3 separate regions of the Homo sapiens genome follow, and all the other regions are linked to region 3. Evidence: promoter capture Hi-C in human tissues and cell types (Jung and others, 2019). All regions are on one chromosome and are shown on one strand. Each heading gives the region's core, a stretch centred on a gene start or on the middle of the fragment in contact. The rest is flanking DNA. Distances are from core to core; before and after follow the strand shown.

Evidence for each region. The method cuts DNA at HindIII sites, captures the fragments that hold promoters and counts their contacts. A contact is called where the count stands out against the background at its distance.
Region 1: a contact is called between a fragment that was not itself captured here and the fragment with the promoter of HPS4 in region 3, in 1 of the 25 tissues and cell types used here (dorsolateral prefrontal cortex).
Region 2: a fragment that was not itself captured here is called in contact with the fragment with the promoter of HPS4 in region 3 in 1 of the 25 tissues and cell types used here (mesenchymal stem cells).

The regions. Positions count from the first base shown.
Region 1 is chr22:27,816,922-27,819,621 of GRCh38, reverse strand. No RefSeq gene overlaps it. Among named protein-coding and RNA genes, the nearest start is that of MN1, 17 kb to the right of the region's middle. The HindIII fragment of the contact is 5,315 bases long and covers 1-2,700 here.
Region 2 is chr22:25,427,963-25,430,662 of GRCh38, reverse strand. No RefSeq gene overlaps it. Among named protein-coding and RNA genes, the nearest start is that of MIR6817, 26 kb to the left of the region's middle. The HindIII fragment of the contact is 6,166 bases long and covers 1-2,700 here.
Region 3 is chr22:26,482,389-26,485,088 of GRCh38, reverse strand. HPS4 (HPS4 biogenesis of lysosomal organelles complex 3 subunit 2) reads left to right here and starts at 1,306. Exons shown (of 14, transcript NM_022081.6): 1 at 1,306-1,415. It overlaps SRRD (SRR1 domain containing), which reads right to left and starts at 1,212. Exons shown (of 7, transcript NM_001013694.3): 1 at 990-1,212. The coding sequence starts at 1,198. RefSeq lists a silencer at 1,029-1,118 and an enhancer at 1,139-1,258. The HindIII fragment of the contact is 11,927 bases long and covers 1-2,384 here.

The sequences.
Region 1 (2,700 bases), core at 171-2,670, 1.3 Mb before region 3:
CCACCATGCGCGGCTGAATTGTTCACTTTTAAATGGTCAATTTTACATCCTGTGAGTTTCGCTTCCGTAAAACAAACAAACAAACAAACAAACAAAAAACCATGACTTGAAGGCCGAGGTGGGAGGACAGCTTGAGCCCAGGAATTTCAGACCAGCCTGGGCAATATAATGAGACCTCATCTCTGCAAAATTTTTTTTTAAAAATTAGCTGGGCATGGTGGCGTGTGGCTGTAGTCTGGCCACTTGAGAGGCTGAGGTGGGAGGATCGCTTGAGCCTGGCAGGGTGAGGCTGCAGTGAGCTGTGATTGCACCATTGTGCTCTAGCCTGGGTGACAGGGCAAGACTCTGTCTCTAAAAAAAATAAATTAGAAAACCCAAAATGTGACTTTTCACAGTGACTCCAGGGATAGGATTTCAGCTGTTCCCTCTTACAGATGAGGAAGTAAAGGCTCCAAGAGGGTGCTGGCCTTGCTGAGTGCCGGGATGGACCATGATCCTCTGGCAGTCTGGGCCTGTCTTCTGCAGACCCCTCTGCAGCAGCCTTGACATTGCGCTGTGCGCTTCTGTCAAACCCTCTGCAGGCTTCCCCCAGCGGCCCAAGGTCAAGGTGAGTATGGGGTTCTGTCAGGAATTTGTCTTAGCAGTGAGGACCCCAGCGTCTCCAGAAGGGAGCTTGTCAAACCAACTTGAAGGGCCTGGTGTTCCTGAGACGTATTTCCATCAGGCAGGTGAGCCAGGCTCTTCGGCCGCCTTCGTATACGCCTGTAACTGCCAGGAGACACTCAAATGCCTGTGCCAGAGGATCCACATTTCTCTGGGCATCCCAGGCCCCGTGGAGACAGGTCTGTAGCTAAGACGTTCAGAGAGGGCATGGCCCCTTCTCGCTGTTCAAACCCAGGCCTTTTCTATGCGAGTGTAGAGGTGACCCCATGCTCTAGTCACCTCCAGTGCAAAATTAGATTCTGCTGAACTTCGAGTACTTCTTGGGTAGTTGTCTTTGGTTGGAGGAGTCATGCCTGATATTTCTTCTGGGGGTTGGAAGAAGATGGTTTTGATTTTCTGAGACTAAAGGATCTCACAATTGGAGGTCAGGAGGTGGGTTCCAGCCTCAGTGGGGAGTTGTTTCTAGCTTGCTTTGTGATCCTGGGAAGCCTTCTCGACTCTGAACTTCATCTTCCTTATGGTGCTTTGTTCTGGCCAGAGTATTAGAGGGATCCAGGAAGGAGAATGTGGTCTCAGCTTGTTCTTTCAACCCATGCCACATACTATAGAAATATGATTGTCACCACCCAGAGCTGGACCTCATCTTCTTCGGGCAAAACTATAATTGCATGTGGATTTTTTTTTTTTTAGACAGGGTCTCTGCTGGAGTGCCGTGGCATAATCATAGCTCACTGCAGCCTCAGCCTCCTGGGCTCAAGTGATCCTCCCATCTAAGCCTCCTGAGTAGCTGAGGAGCTGGGAGCATGGGTGCATACCACCACACCTAGATATATATATATATATATTTTTTTTTTTTTTTTGAGACAGAGTCTCGCTCTGTAGACTAGGCTGAGTGCAGTGGCGTCATCTTGGCTCACTGCAACCTCCGCCTCTTGGGTTCAAGCAATTCTCCTGCCTTAGCCTCCTGAGTAGCTGGGATTACAGGCGCCTGCCACCATGCCTGGCTAATTTTTTTTTGCATTTTCAGTAGAGACAGGGTTTCACCATGTTGGCCAGGCTGGTCATGAACCCCTGACCTCAGGTGATCTGCCTGCCTCGGCCTCCCAAAGTGCTGGCCCCAGCCACGATATATATTTTTTTATTAAAAAAATTTTTTTTTGTAGACATGAAGTCTCACCATGTTGCTTAGGCTGGTCTCAAACTCCTGGGCTCAAGTGATCCTCCCACCTCAGCCTCTTGAGTAGCGGGGATTGTTACAGGTGCACCACTGTGCCTGGCTAATTTTTATTTTTGGTAAAGAAGAGGTGGTACATGCCTGTAATCCCAACAACTGGGGAGGCTGAGGCAAGAGAATTGGTTGAACCCAGGAGGCAGAGGTTGCAGTGAGCCAAGATCGTGCCACTGCACTCCAGCCTGGGTGACAGAGCGAGACTCCATCTCAGGAAAAAAAAAAGAAAGAAAAGAAAAAGAATCAAGGTGTGCTGAGTTGACTAGTTTACCCTGAAAACTCACATCCACTTGGACCCTGTGAATGCGACCCTTTTTTGATAATAGAGCCTTTATAGATGCAATCACATTAAAATGTGGTCATATTGGATTAGGGTGGGACATAAATCCAATATGACTGGCGCCCTTAGAAGAAGAGGAAGATTTGAATACAGGGACACACAGGAGGACACCACATGAAGACAAAGGCAGGGATTGGAAGGATGCCTCCACAAGTTCAGGAAAGTCAAAGGTTACTGGGAGCCACCAGAAGCTGGAAGAGGTGCGGAAAAGCTCTCCCCTAGAGCCCAGGAGAGAGCAAGCTTCTGCTCCCACCTTGATTGCAGAAGTCTGGTCTCCAGGACTGAGAAAATAAAGTTTTGTTGTTTTAAGCCACCAAGCAGGAGGTCACTACCCGTCCTGTTTCAGCTGCTCAAAGATGATTTTTTTCTATGTGACATAGTGTTGAGACTGATGGAAAGAGAATGGCTTAGAGAAAAGAAGGAAGGAAGGAGGGAGGGAGGAAGTGAGGAAGAGAAGGAAGAGAAGGAA
Region 2 (2,700 bases), core at 200-2,699, 1.1 Mb after region 3:
AGCCTGCTGGCCCAGCCCAGCGTGCGTGTTCACAGCCCTGGTCTACCATCCACCCCAGAGAACTCTTGTGCACCCTGCAGGGCCCTGCCCTGGACCTGCCTACCCGCATCCTCTGCTCATTCAGTCTTCTTTACCAGGTGGCCACTGTCTGTGTCCCATTCAGGGCCCAGACCCCCTCCCTCCCTTGTCCCCTGCCCGCCATGAAGGCCTGGCCCAGTGCAGGGCCCAGCCATGCGGCAGAATGGAAGGAATTTTTGGGTGGTGAGCAGGGTGGCAGAGCACGTGGTATGGCAGACAGGTTCTAGGGTCTCTGAGATGATCCCTCAGCGTGCTTTTATGGGGGCCCATGTGCACCTGCCATATCCCTGTTGAGAGAAGGGGCGCTGAGGTCACTCCTGTGCCTTTGCTCACACCCATCTTCCAGCATGCCCTTCCTCCCTCTGCCCTCCAGCCCTGGTTGCAGCTCCCAGGCCTGTCTGAGGTTGCCACTGCCCCCAGGCCACCTTTGCTGACATGGAATCCCCAGTATCCCCTGCCCCTCATTTTCTTCACAGAGGGTCTTTCCTGCAGCCTGAGCTCTGGACTGGGCAGGGACAAGTACTCCCAGGGGACCCCAGTGCCACAGTCCCCTTCTGCCACGGTGCATGAGCAGGCACACTTCAGGTCTCACCTGGGGCTGGGCTAGGCCGATCCTGCCTTGCCTGGGACATCAGGAGCTGAGGGTCTATATAGGTCAGGCCCCAGGAAGCCTCAGGGGGCTTGTGGAAGGGTGGGTGTGTGTGTGTATGGACAGATATATGGATGGACAGACTGATGGAAAAACGGATAAGTAACTGTCCAGTCTGAAGTCCTGCCCATGAAGGAGAGACCCTGGAAGGCCTCTTGGGGGCAGCTGTGCTTCCAGGTTCCTTGTCACTACCCAAGACCTTAGGGTCCCACGGCAGCAATTGGAAGGGTCCCCATTTCCCTTTCCCTCCCTGTAACTGGCCAAGCCCCCTGAAATATCCAAGGTCTAGAGGCAGCAGGTGGCGTGTGACCTGCAGGTACCCACTTCCGGCTTTGGCCAATCCTGCCCACCCTGGGTCCCTCTGAGCTCTGAGTGTCTGGCTGTGCCCTACAGTTGGCCATAGCTCTGCACCTAGCATTTTGAACAGTTCCTACAGAGCCCTGAGAAGGGGGCAGGGCCTGCATGAACAGAAGCTTCTGGAGCAGAAGATGCCGCTTCTGACCCTTCACTGACTGCGATCTTGAGACCCTGTCTAGCTCAGGTCTGGGCACAGGGCCTGGGCACCTCGGTGCTGGATACAGGCCCATTTCCCAGCTGGGCTGGTGGAGGCTTCATTAACCGAATCCTCCCCTACCCCTATGTCCCCACCCCCACCAGCTTCCCCTCTAAAAACCATTTGGCAATTTTTTTTTTTTTTGAGACGGAGTCTCGCTCTGTTGCCCAGGCTGGAGTACAGTGGTGCGATCTCGGCTCACTGCAAGCTCCGCCTCCCGGGTTCACACCATTCTCCTGCCTCAGCCTTCCCAGTAGCTGGGACTACAGGCGCCTGCCACCATGCCCGGCTAATTTTTTGTATTTTTAGTAGAGACGGGGTTTCACCGTGTTAGCCAGGATGATGTCGATCTCCTGACCTCGTGATCCACCCACCTTGGCCTCCCAAAGTGCTGGGATTACAGGCGTGAGCCACCACACCCGGCCGGCAATTTCTAATAAACATATGCTTATGCATATCAAGCAAACCCTACTCCTAGGTTTTTATCCAAATGGAATGAAAACTTATGTTCAAACAAAAATTTGTTTGCAAATACTTATACTGGTTTTATTCACCATTGGCAAAAAGCAGAAACATCTGTATACACACACGGTGCACATGTACCCTAGAACTTAAAGTATAATTAAAAAAATTAAAAAGAAAACACCTGCTATTCAAAACACACACACACACACACACACACACACACACACACACACAGAACAGCAGAAACATCTGGTTTGACCCACCACACACATACACACACCCCACAAGTGGAAACAACACAATTGTCATTCAGCTGGTGAATGGCTAAACGAGATCGGGACCATCCTGGCTAACACGGTGAAACCCCGTCTCTACTAAAAATACAAAAAAATTAGCCGGGCGTGGTGGCAGATGCCTGTAGTCCCAGCTACTCGGGAGGCTGAGGCAGGAGAATGGCATGAACCCGGGAGGCAGAGCTTGCAGTGAGCCAAGATCTCGCCACTGCACTCCAGCCTGGGTGACAGAGCAAGACGGAGAATCAGACTCAGCAATAATAGGGAACAAACTATTGATCAATAAGGCAACTGGGATGAATTGCAACATTGTTACACTGAACTCAGGAAGCCAGACTCAGAAGGTTACATACTTAGACTCCTATTTAGTATTAAAAAGGAACAAAGTATGTTGCAACCGAGCCACCTGGAGGAACACCCAGAAAACTATGCTGAGTGGGAGAAAGCCAGTCCCCAGAAATCACATACTGTATGATTCCATGTGCAGAACATTCTTGAAATAACAAAATTACACAAGTGGAGACCAAATTAATAGTTGCCAGGGGCTAAGGAGGGGTTTGGGACAGTGGGAAGAGAGTGTTTCTGTGAAAGGGCAACATGAGGGATGTTTGGGAGGGAAGTGTTCCCTTCTTGCTGTATCAATGTCAATCTCCTGGCTCTGA
Region 3 (2,700 bases), core at 57-2,556:
GGCATCCTCTGAGAGCTTAAAAATAATCGCAGGTGCTTTTTATTCAGGCTGAGCCAAATGGTCAGCAACTTTCTCTTCAGAGGTAAACTCTGGGACATTACTGCCTCTTGACCCTAATTCTAGGGGAGAGGAGCACACAAAATTAATCTAATTTCTCCCCTTGTGACGGCCCTTCGGATGCTGATCTTAAGTGCTAACTAAAGCTGTTATTTATTGAGCCTAAACAAAACTGCGAATAAAGATAATAATACTAAATAACAATAATAAGTAACATTTATTGAGTGTTTCCTCTGTATTAGGCACTCTCTATGTACTTTCTAAGGTACAGAGCAAGGTATGTGAGAATCTGGGCTGGGATAAGCAACAAGCATAATGGAAAGCTGGAAGCACTGGTTTTTGTCACAAAGACCTGGGTTTGAAATCTGGTTCCACACATTTTCTTTGTCTCTTTGAGAATCAGTGAGCTACCAGGGTCCTAGTATGCCTGCAATGTTTAACATAAAGTGTGTAGAATGATTAAGCTAATGTCAGGCACATAGCAGCTGCCTGATGATAGCAGTCACGTGTTCATGTTGCTTCCCTCGTGTCACCACCACCAATAATATCAACATCGGCATAATATTAATAGCAAACACTGGCACAGTGCTTACCACGTGCCAGAAAATGGTTTCCGTTTACTAATTCATTGAATCCTCAAAACAAACCTACGTATGTACTATTTTCATCCCCATCTCACAGATGAGAAAACTGAGGCACAGAGATTATAAATTGTCCAAGGTCACGCAGCTGTAACCGTAATAAAAGGAAAGACGACCTTTAACTGAGCGCTTACTATAATCCACATCTTTAATGAGCTCGTTACCTACGTTAACTCTTCACAATAACTCCTTAAAGGGTGTGCATTATATCTCCACTCTACAGATGGGGAGACTGTGGCTCAGAATTGCCCATGGGCGCAAAGATTCCATCAGGGCCGAGCCTGCACTCACTCAGCCTCCCAGATGCGACGAAGCACGACTCCGCTGTCAGACTCGAACTCCGCCTCGGGGCCCCGGGGCGCCGCCTCTCTCCCCCGGGGCGCCGCCTCTCTCCCCCGGGGCGCCGCCTCCCTCCGCCGCGGCCGTCGAGCCGCGGAGCGCCTCTTCCGCGGAGCCGCCGCCTGCCAGGATTCCAGCGCCGCAGCTGCGGCCGCAGCCATTGGTCTCTGACGTCAGCGGCGTGCGGCGCACTCGGCACGTCATCGCCGCGCGCCGGCTTGCCAGGAGCTGGAGGGGGAGGTAGGCGGGGCGGCGCGTGACCTAAGGCCTCTCTGCCGCGCGCGCAGGTACGGGGCAGAAGTCGCAGGTACCCAGCTGCTGCCCACATTTCTGGTCCAGAGTCCCGAACCCCGAGCACTGGGATGCCTGGCTACTCCGGTGGGTGGGCGGCGCTCGGAGCGCGGGGATACCGAGGGGCGGGCCCCCAGCTTAGAGCGTGACCCGACCCCGCCTAATCCTTAGGCGTTCGCCCACCATTTCCCAGTCCCGTAGAGCTGGGGCCAGACACCGCACAGCCCTAGTGCTGTTACCAGTCGCTGCCTGCGCCCCGGGGGCTGCGCCCAGCAGCTTCCTGGCCCTTTTCCAGCCATTAGCGTCCGTTTTCCAGCCCTGCTGCCCCACTGAGGCCCCTTCCCACAGCAGTATCACCAGCCCCAGCCCCGCGTTGTTACTATTACTTCCCAGGCTACCAGATCCTTTTCTGCTCATGTTCCGACGTCTCTTCCTACTCCAGGGCCATTATTGGTCTCTTCTGGACCTTTCAGAGATAAGAGAGGACCTCGGTAGTGTAGGGCCCAGTCCTCTGGGAACAAGGGATGGGGAGTTTTAGGCTGCTGTCCTTGGTTCCAGTAACAGAGATACCCCCTCCACAGGCACCCAAATATGCTCCATAGAATACAATGAGTGTGGTCCTGTGGAGGCCCAATCCAAAATATCTAGAGCTGAGAAGAGATAGAGATTTTACAGGCCGTCAAATATTCAATGGGGGTCGTCTCTAGAGACTTTTAACAAACTGTATTGTGTACCCACAGATTGCAGAATGGTGAGCAAACATTTGAGACCATGTTGCTAAAGCATTAAGCTTGGAGAAAGTGACAGTAAGAATTAGACAATAGTTTTGAAGTGACCAAGAGGTTGTCACATGGAAGAATTAGACCTTGTTTTGTGTTTTCCTGCAGAGCGTTATCCAGACTAGCGAGTGGGAGGCAGATGTAAAATCTGGAACGCAGATTTTAGTTTGTTGGAAGGAGAAATGTAACATAGTGAACCACGCATCTCTGGAGGGTGTAAAGCAGAGACAGCCAAGGTAATTTTTGGAAAAGAGTGCAGGAGAGTAGAGTAAACGATGCCAGGGTTCCTTCCGACTCTGAAATTCCGTGATACACTGAGCTGTCTTTCTCTTGTGGAAGTTTGAAAGCCATTTGATAAAGTTCTCTTCATTTTTTAGAAATTTGCCCTGCTCTGGAATTCTGCATGTTCAGGTTACTTTTGGACTGTCAAGATGACAGTTCCTTAATTTGGGTTCCATTATTACCACAGCAACTGGTTTATTTGTATAGCTGTCCACACCTAGAGCATTTTCACCCTGTCATTTGATTTTATCTTCCGTGAAGCTTGTGGTGTGTTTCCCTTAACTGTTCGAGAAACTAAAGCCCTTACTCTG